Regions from separate parts of the Homo sapiens genome. Here region 1 is linked to region 2. Evidence: promoter capture Hi-C in human tissues and cell types (Jung and others, 2019). All regions are on one chromosome and are shown on one strand. The core of a region is centred on a gene start or on the middle of the fragment in contact, and the rest is flanking DNA. Distances in the headings are between cores, read along the strand shown. Region 1 overlaps MAMDC2 (MAM domain containing 2). Region 2 holds the start of PTAR1 (protein prenyltransferase alpha subunit repeat containing 1).

Region 1 (4,514 bases), core at 1,752-4,251, 350 kb after region 2:
AAAAAAAAAAAGGTGAAAAGACAAAGCACAGAATGGGAAAAAGTATTTGCAAATTTTCTATTCGATAAGATCTATTATCCAGAATGTATAAAACCTCTTATAACTCAACAATAAAAAGACAACCCAATTTTTAAAATGGACAAACGATTTGAACAGACATTTTTCCAAAGTAGATGTACATTAATGGCCAATAAGCATATGAAAGATGCTCTACATAATTAGTCACTTGAGAAATGCAAATCAAAAGCATAATCAGAGATCAATTCACATCAATTCACTAAAATTAAAAAAAAGATGGGCAATAACAAGTGTTGGTGAGGATGTGGAGAAATTGGAACTCTCATACATTGCTGGTGGAAATGTAAATGATGCAACCACTTGAGAAAGCAGTTTGGCAGTTCTTCAAAAAGTTAAACATAGAATTTCCATGTGGCCTAACAATTCCACTCCTAGGCATACACCTAGGAGAAGTGAAATTTTTATATACAAAAACACTTGCATAAAAATGTTAATGGCAGGATTATTCATAATAGTCAAAAAGGAGAGGCAATCCAAATGTCCATCAACTAATGAATGAATAAATAAAATGTGGTAATCCATAAAATAGAATATTAGCCCCCAAAAAGAATGAAATTCTAATATATGCTACAACATGGATGAACCTTGAAAATATGCCAGGTGAAAGAAGCTAGTCACAAAGGGACACATATTATATAATTCTATTTATATAAAGTTTCCAGAATAGGCAAGTTCAGGCAGACAGAAAGTAGATTTGTAGTTTCCAGATGCTAGGGGTGGGGAGAATGAGGGATGACTGCTAATGGATACAGGGTTTCCTTTTGGGGTTATGGTGAAAATGTTCTGGAATTAGATAGTGGTGATGGTGCACAAATTTATGAACATGCTAAAAACCTCTGAATTGTATTAAAAGGGTGAATTCTATGGAATGCGAATTATGTCTAAAGTTAACTTCCAAATATCAATTTGATTAAGATGGAATAAATAAAACATTTTTTTACACCCAAAGAAAACTTCGTTAATTCACTCGGTGGTAAAATGATTCTTTTTAAGTAAAAAGAACTCACAGATTTATTCTAGAATAGCAATTTTCTTAGTGACAAGGCAGGGAAAGGCAACATCCTTGACATTAATATCTTCCTCATCCTATATTTTCTAAAACTTCTTCAAAATATACCGTGTTCCTTCTAGTTCAATTTAGCTATAACGTGACCACAAAATATACCCCTACACTGAAGCCACAAGCAGAGATAACAAGTAGTTTCAACTCAAGTGCCAACTCAGATTGATTGGTAGTGGTTACATGCAGCACTATGTTTAGAAGGATTCTAAGGCTGTATCCAGAGCAGGCCTGGAAAACGTAGTGATTAATTTAGAAAATTAGTCTTGAAGTTGGCAGTGATAGTGGAGGTGGGCGGTGCTTGGGCTAATGATTAGGTCTAGGAAAATGCATCATTCTGCTGAGTGGATTGCATCCAATCAGCTGGGTAGATACATCTTTGCATGGACTGTAATGCTGCTAAGAGGCACGTTCACATGGCGTGACCTAAAAACAAATATGAGATCTTTAATTTAAATGCAAAATTCCAATATTTTAAAATAACCCACATTTATGGCTAAGATGTCAAAATCACTCAATGAATAGCACCGACTTTCATCACACAGAATAAAATCTAGGTATTTTAAATAGTACATTTTATATAGTGTGTGCTCTCAAAGGTTCTTGACAAGAGAACATTAGCATAAGCTTATAGTAAAATCTGATCAGGTGAGAGAGAATGTCAAGAGAATTTTTTTATGGCACTCACTGAAAAGCCAAGATAATCACCAGCAGATGGACTCTGTGCACCTGCTTTAACACACATTCACTTAAATTCGAGTTGTACCTTCCAGCAGAACCGTTGCCTACCTCCTTTACATGCTACAGGAGCCTGCACTTTCTTTGGTAGATGAGAGGTGGCTGGAGAATGAACCCTATTTACCTGTCCATACATTGTAAGTCAGCAGTTCTCAAAGACCAGTAGCAACAGTATCACCTGGAACATCCAAGAAATGCAATCTGTTAGAAATGCAGCATCACCCCAGCTCTACTGGATTGGAAACTCAAGGGGTGGGCCTGGGGATGTGTATTTGAACAAGATATCCAGGTGACTCTGGGCTCAACTTTAAGAGCATTGCTTTGAGTTGTCCCTTTCTGGAGTGGGGAAAGGAAAAGGGGAGGGAGAGAAAAGGGGAGGCTGGGGAAGTACCCAGGGAAAATTGAGCCTCCCATGGCAGCAAAGTTGGTATTTGATATGAATGTTGATAGGACATAGCAAGGTCTTTATTTGTTTCTTTCCTCTTTTATACTCCATGTCCAACTCTCTACTTCTTCGGAAAAGGTTTGAGGTACTCACGTGATCTCCCCCAATCCAGCCTGCTTGAAGTCCCTTCTTTTGGGGCAGTAGCAAAGAGTGGGGAAAGAGGATGGTGCTAATACATTCCTCATGCCACAAGAAGCAGCACTTTTTATCCAAAAAGGGTTGGCCTCAAGAGCCCCAGCTTAGAATAGTCAAACCCAACAAGGCCTTCACCTTGGAAATGCACGTGAAGCACTTAGAACAGCACTTGGGCCTGAGTTGCAGTGAGTGTCGCCTGTACGTGGGAGGTATGATGGTGTCAGCAATTGCTGCAAGGGCCAGATTTCTCCACAAGGGTGCCTGGGTTGGCATCTAGAAGCAATTGCTATCTGCACCCAGTGGGCGGTTGCTATGTTAAGAAGATTGCCAGGAAGAGTTAGATCTTGATCTTGAAATCCTTCAGTCGGCAAGAAAGGATCCCTGAAGACAATGCCCTAACTGTGTCCCTCATGTGAGGATGGCCGTCATCTGAGCTCCAGTTAGCCTGTCGGTACTCGCCACGGATATAAGGATCCAGGCTGGGATGGGCATTTGAGACAACAAGCGTGGGAGGACAGGCTGAAGAACATCAAGCAAAACAAAGAGGCTTTTCAGATCCTTTCTCGTAAGAGTTTAGGGTTAGGGAGACCGAAGTGCAGACACAGGGTGGTGGAAGCCACAGGACGAAAGACAGCAGGTTAAATGACAGCCATGAATGTGGGGCCCTCCGAGAAAGCATGAGAATCTGCAGGCCAGAAAGGCCCAGGAGGTCCCCAAAGACCCACAGGCAATTGGATCATTGACATAGGAAACCAGATGGCCAGAGGTGGGTTTGGAAGGCTCGAGTTAAGGTTCTTGGCTTCAATGCCCCACCAACTTTTATAGAAATGCTTTTCATATCTTGTACAGCCAGCAGAAAGCACTTGTCGATATTAGGAGGGTAGAGGGAGAAGGGAAGGAGAATGAACAGAGGAAAAGGAAAGGAGGAGGAGAAGGACGGGGAAAGGGGAATAAGAAGACAGAAGAGAGGAGGAAAAGGAGAAAGGAGGAAACAGGGAATCCGAAAGGAGAAGTGAGGATAGAGGAGAAGGAAGGACAATTGCTAGTCCCAGAGTGTCCAGTGCTTTCCCAGCCCTGTGCTACATGTTTTGCAAGTGTTTCCTCATTTATTTCTCAGAACTATGAAATTTGGTCATGGAAGAGTCAAGGGAAGGAAGTCTTATTCCTAATTTAATAAAAAATAGCTTACAATGTACTTTTTCTGCCTAGGTCCCAAGATCCAGGCTTAGGTAACCAAATCAATTCAGTCTACATAATGATGCAAGTTAAATGCAGATTGAAACATTAGGTAATGGGGAGAGCTATGTAAGGAGAAGGTTGAGTCCACCCAGTTATTCTGACTTCAGTCATGCCGCTCTTCTGATTCTGATGTCCCTCAGCCTGCAGAAACATATGCCTATGGGGACCAGGGAGATGAATGCAATGTGCTAAATGGGCCTGGTGTAAAAGAATAAAAAGCAGAGACACTCAGTGTGAGGAGTGAAGAGGGACTGATGGCAATTATGGCAAAGTGGAGACCACATGCCACCCTCTGAAGAGGCAGCACCACTCAGCTCCAGCCTGTTGTCATCATCTGGTAACATGGTCTCAGTGCTTTGTAATTTTTTCAAAAGAGGCCAGTGATCCAGTGTTCAGGCAACTTTCAGTGGGTTGACAAAATATATCTGCAGGTTTATCTGCCCAGAGATTTACTTAACTGCAGTTACGTATTTTTCCAGGTTGCAAACAAAAATTGATCCTTTTCCTATGTTCCTTTCTCTTTCCAGGCCATTACATTTATGTGGATACCTCCTTTGGCAAGCAGGGGGAGAAAGCTGTGCTGCTAAGTCCTGACTTACAGGCTGAGGAATGGAGCTGCCTCCGTTTGGTCTACCAGATAACCACATCTTCGGAGTCTCTGTCAGATCCCAGCCAGCTGAACCTCTACATGAGATTTGAAGATGAAAGCTTTGATCGCTTGCTTTGGTCAGCTAAGGAACCTTCAGACAGCTGGCTCATAGCCAGCTTGGATTTGCAAAACAGTTCCAAGAAATTCAAGGTAGGTGGAGTTTAGGAGAA
Region 2 (4,291 bases), core at 1,747-4,246:
ACAGAAAATTTCCACCATTACAGAAATTTCTGTTAGTGCCTTGGGTTCAAGAACTGTATTTTAAACTTCTATTTCACACAGTAAAGATGGTACCCACAACACTTCATAAACAGTGAGTTCAATATTTAATAGAAAAAACAATAACTTGCTGGATAAGATTAATTTTAACGTGACTGTTTACATTATAAACTGTTGTCTTCTACATTAGCACAGGGTCCATACACTAAGTTAAAGACTATCCCTAGGTCAAGTTTTCAGTTTTAGAGAATCCAATATGATTATCTAATACTCAACCATACAAACAGCATTTATATAGTATTATCCAGGTTTATAAAGTGCTTCATATTCACCAATCATTTGTCCAATATATTTTTGGTGAGGAACACAGAGATTCAGGGAAGGTCTAATATTTATTGAGTGGCAACTAAGTACCACTGTGTGAGGTGATTTTCCTGTTTTCATCAGCCTCACAAGATCAAGAGGAAACTGAGGCTGAGAGAAGGTACCTATTCACATCATACAGTAACAAAATCCACATCTCACCACTGCATCCTCAACTCCTTCTGGCTAAATATTTCTACATAAACAAAGTCAATGTATTTAATGAAGTAGATGTTGGCCAATAAAATTACAACCGATCTTAAGTTTGGACAAGAAAAACAAAAAAATTTTTGTATAATACTGAAAGTGTAATTAGATACAGTAAAGTTAGATACAAACGTTACAGATAAACAATGCCTTAAAAAAAAAAAAAGAAACACAGCCTCTTTATTTTGGGAGTAAATGGGCTAAATTAAGGGAAGAAAGCGCAGGCAATTTTTAAAAGCCCAAATTATAAGGCACTTACAAAGATGCATAGTAATATTATTGAAAATAGTTTTACTGTGGGGAATATGTATTCAAATATAGCTGATGACTAGTCTTAAACAATGAGTTAAGCTATTTAAATGTTTAAGACCTATATTACAAATCATTACATTATTCCGAATATCCAACTTATCTCAAAGTTTTAAATCTCGAATGACCCAAATCCTTATTACTAATAAATTATACATTGAGGATATATTAATGAGGTTTTACAGTAGAAAAAGGATTAGGGAGGGGCATTAAAGTCCTTTAAGAGTTTCCATAAATGTGATCCACAAGAACTGGGACATGTTCCAAACTGCACTGTGTTAAAAACTGCCAAGCCAATGAACATTCAATCTTGGTTTCTTCAAATATAATGATGCTCTTTTAGTCTACCTCAAAGAAGAGAACATAAGATGATTACGACATTTTGTATTAGATTTCTAATCTCTGCTGTAATTTCTTCTAGAAAAATACCAGTGATGAGAAAATACACTCTTCATTTGTCCAACTTTTTTTTTTTTTGAGGTCGTCTCTTACTTGCACTAAGGCTCCCATTCTCAAAAAGAAATCGAAAGACTGATATACAGCAAGGCATCAAAGCATTCTTTAGAAGGCTCAGCAACCACTATGGATACTGCCAGGAAATCATTCCAAACACTCTCATTTTGAAAAAGGCAGCAGTCATAAGGGGGAGGGAAGTGGATGCTGTCAGAGGTGGCAGGTGTGTTTTGAGGCCAGCAGTGTTTTGTTTTTAATGTGGCACAGTTGCACGTCTCCAATTGTGTGCCACAAGGGAGCAAAACATCCAACGGCTTCTTAACTGTTTTACAATCATCACCTTGGAGGAAAAGAACACTTTGGTAAGATACACGTTTGGCAACTTTTTTAGGCAGAAAAGCTGAACCGGTTAGAATACTTAAAAAAAAAAATCATGAGCTCCAGTCTAAAGAATAAAATAAAAATAAATTAAATAATAATAAAAAATAATAAACTAAAAAAAAAAAAAATAAACTCCAAAAACAACTAGCTAAAATGAAAGTAATGCAGAACTGGATGCCATGTTTCTTTTCTTTGAGGAGGAAGAGGTATGGGAAAGGAGGTACATTGTTGCTTCTTCCCTACACCTTTGTATAATGTAGATCTCTCTCTCTCTCTCAATAGCTTTCTTTTCACTTGTTACATAAAAGCAAAGTGTTACAAAAAGTAGACTCTTGCGGTATCTTCCCACAGTACTTCAAGTAAAATGGAAGAGATACATATGTCAGTTCTGCAGTGTCCCGTTAAAGAGGGCAGCAGTGTTGGGATAAAAATGAGTTAACATGCTCCTTGTAACTATGAATCCGCTTATGCTAAAAAGTATCAAGGTTTCATTTGCTTTATCCCAGACTCCACACTGCGCCCACAGAAGCTTCTCTTGAGAATGTTCTGTTCACCTTTCAAAACACAATGTATTATCGGAGTCACTTTACAATTTTGTGGCAAGTAAGGCTAAAGTCAAAAGCAGCCTCAAACCACCTTTAGTTAGTAAACTGAGGGGTTTGAGGCTCATTAAAAGTAAGAGGATCGGTTACCCCCTCTTGCCAACGTCCGGGATGAATCTCAAGAGTTGTGTTTACAAGGCATACACGGACCCACATCGTTGTGTGCGCCCGAGTACCTTAAACACAGGAAGGATGTCGACCTACGGGGGACGTCTCTGGAGTTTCGTGAACTCCTATGAAAAGGTGGGGAGGGACAGAGAAAGTAGTTCCGTTTTGATTTTTTGAGGTCACTTCTAGGGACTCGACCGCGAGCGCGTCCCGGTAGCGGAAAGCCGGGCCAGCGGCGGCCGACAACGGTCCCGCCCGACACGGCTCTGCCTCCTCCCTAGAAGGGCTCGTGGGCCAGGACCCGCTGTCCGCCCGCCGCCCGAGGTCGGGTGGACGCTTGGCCCCGCCCCCGCCCGCTCCCGACGACCCTCGGAGGCGGCGGAGGCGCGCGACTCACATGTGTGGGTTCCTCCTGAAGGCGTTAGTGATGTCCTTCACAACCCGCTGCACCAGCACCGCCACCTCCTCGCTGGTCTCGGCCATGTTGGCGGCGGCCGCGACAGTTCGGGCGCGCCTCCGCGTGAGCCGGGCCGCCGGCGGGAGTTCCGCGGAGAACGAGCGCGCGCGCGCGCGCGCGGGTGCTTCGGCTAGGCCGCGTCCCCGCCGCCGCGGCCGCCGCCGAGCACTTCCGGGTCAGCCAGTTGGCGGCCTGGGCGTGGCGTTAGCTAGGGTTGGTGGCCTTCCAGTGAGTGGAGAAGTTCGCCTCCGCGCGGGTAACGGACTTTCTAAGCGTCAGAGAAGATGCTGGACATTTGTTTGCAAAGTTCTCTCAGGCCTCCGATTTTCTTATTTTAAGTTTTAGGCGAAACCTCAAGACACACTCCCAGAGAGTCAGACACCTTCCTGAACCCCCCCAGCAAGGTCCCCGGGCATTCCTGAAGGAATGTTCAACTGAGGATGCAGGGCCTCTTAACAGTTAGTCCCGGGCGTTTTTCAGAGCTTGTCTGCTTTATTTTCCCAGCCTGAGAGATGAAGAGGTCCAGAGGCATTGCGGCGGAGCGAGTCCCTATTTGACCGTGTTGGTGACCTCCTTTCTAACTGTGCCAATTTTTGTCTCTGAACTTGAAAGCAGCCTTTTTAAAAAACATTAATTAAAATTCTTAAATTTATTAAAGGAAGAGAAAGGAAAGTGAAGGAAAAGTTATTTGCCATCTGTATGTAGGAAGTAGAAGTGAAATCGTTTTTAGATTTTTCGACTTCATTTTGTACTGCATTTGGTAGCCTTTGCGTCAATTTTGGAATTTAAAAAAAAGGATCAAGGCTCTGACAGGGTTTGTTCATAATAGCAAAAATAAATTTTTGTAGGAAAAACGAGCTTTCTAGTTTATTTAGGATTTTGAAATGCCATAACTAAAATTTTTGTGTATCAGGTTTTCTTTTGCACCTCTGGTAGAAAAATCTGGCTGCCCTTGGTTCAGTTTTATTCTTCCACCCTTGAAATCTGGCCAGGTGCGGTGGCTCACGCCTGTAATCCCAGCACTTTGGGGGGCCAAGGCGGGCGGATCACAAGGTCAGGAGATCGAGACCATCCTGGCTAACACGGTGAAACCCCGTCTCTACTAAAAATACAAAAAAAAAAAAAAAAAAAAAAAAGCCGGGCGTGGTGGCGGGCGCCTGTAATCCCAGCTACTCCCCACTGCACTCCAGCCTGGGCGACAGAGCGAGACTCCGTCTTTAAAAAAAGGCCGGGCGCGGTGGCTCACGCCTGTAATCCCAGCACCTTGGGAGGCCGAGGCGGGTGGATCATGAGGTCAGGAGATCGAGACCATCCTGGCTAACAAGGTGAAACCCCGTCTCTACTAAAAATACAAAAAATTAGCTGGGCGCGGTGGCGGGCGCCTGTAGTCCCA

What was found. Contacts are between HindIII fragments. The study calls those that stand out against the background at their distance.
Region 1: a fragment that was not itself captured here is called in contact with the fragment with the promoter of PTAR1 in region 2 in 1 of the 25 tissues and cell types used here (IMR-90 fibroblasts).

What each region holds. Positions count from the first base shown.
Region 1 is chr9:70,103,989-70,108,502 of GRCh38, forward strand. It overlaps MAMDC2 (MAM domain containing 2), which reads left to right. Exons shown (of 14, transcript NM_153267.5): 3 at 4,223-4,494. Among named protein-coding and RNA genes, the nearest start is that of MAMDC2, 62 kb to the left of the region's middle. The HindIII fragment of the contact is 5,648 bases long and covers 178-4,514 here.
Region 2 is chr9:69,757,015-69,761,305 of GRCh38, forward strand. PTAR1 (protein prenyltransferase alpha subunit repeat containing 1) reads right to left here and starts at 2,997. Exons shown (of 8, transcript NM_001099666.2): 1 at 2,839-2,997. The coding sequence starts at 2,924. LOC105376076 (a long non-coding RNA gene) reads left to right here and starts at 3,081. Exons shown (of 4, transcript XR_929910.3): 1 at 3,081-3,459. RefSeq lists enhancers at 2,495-2,544, 4,019-4,291 and a silencer at 2,685-3,154. The HindIII fragment of the contact is 12,775 bases long and covers 1-4,291 here.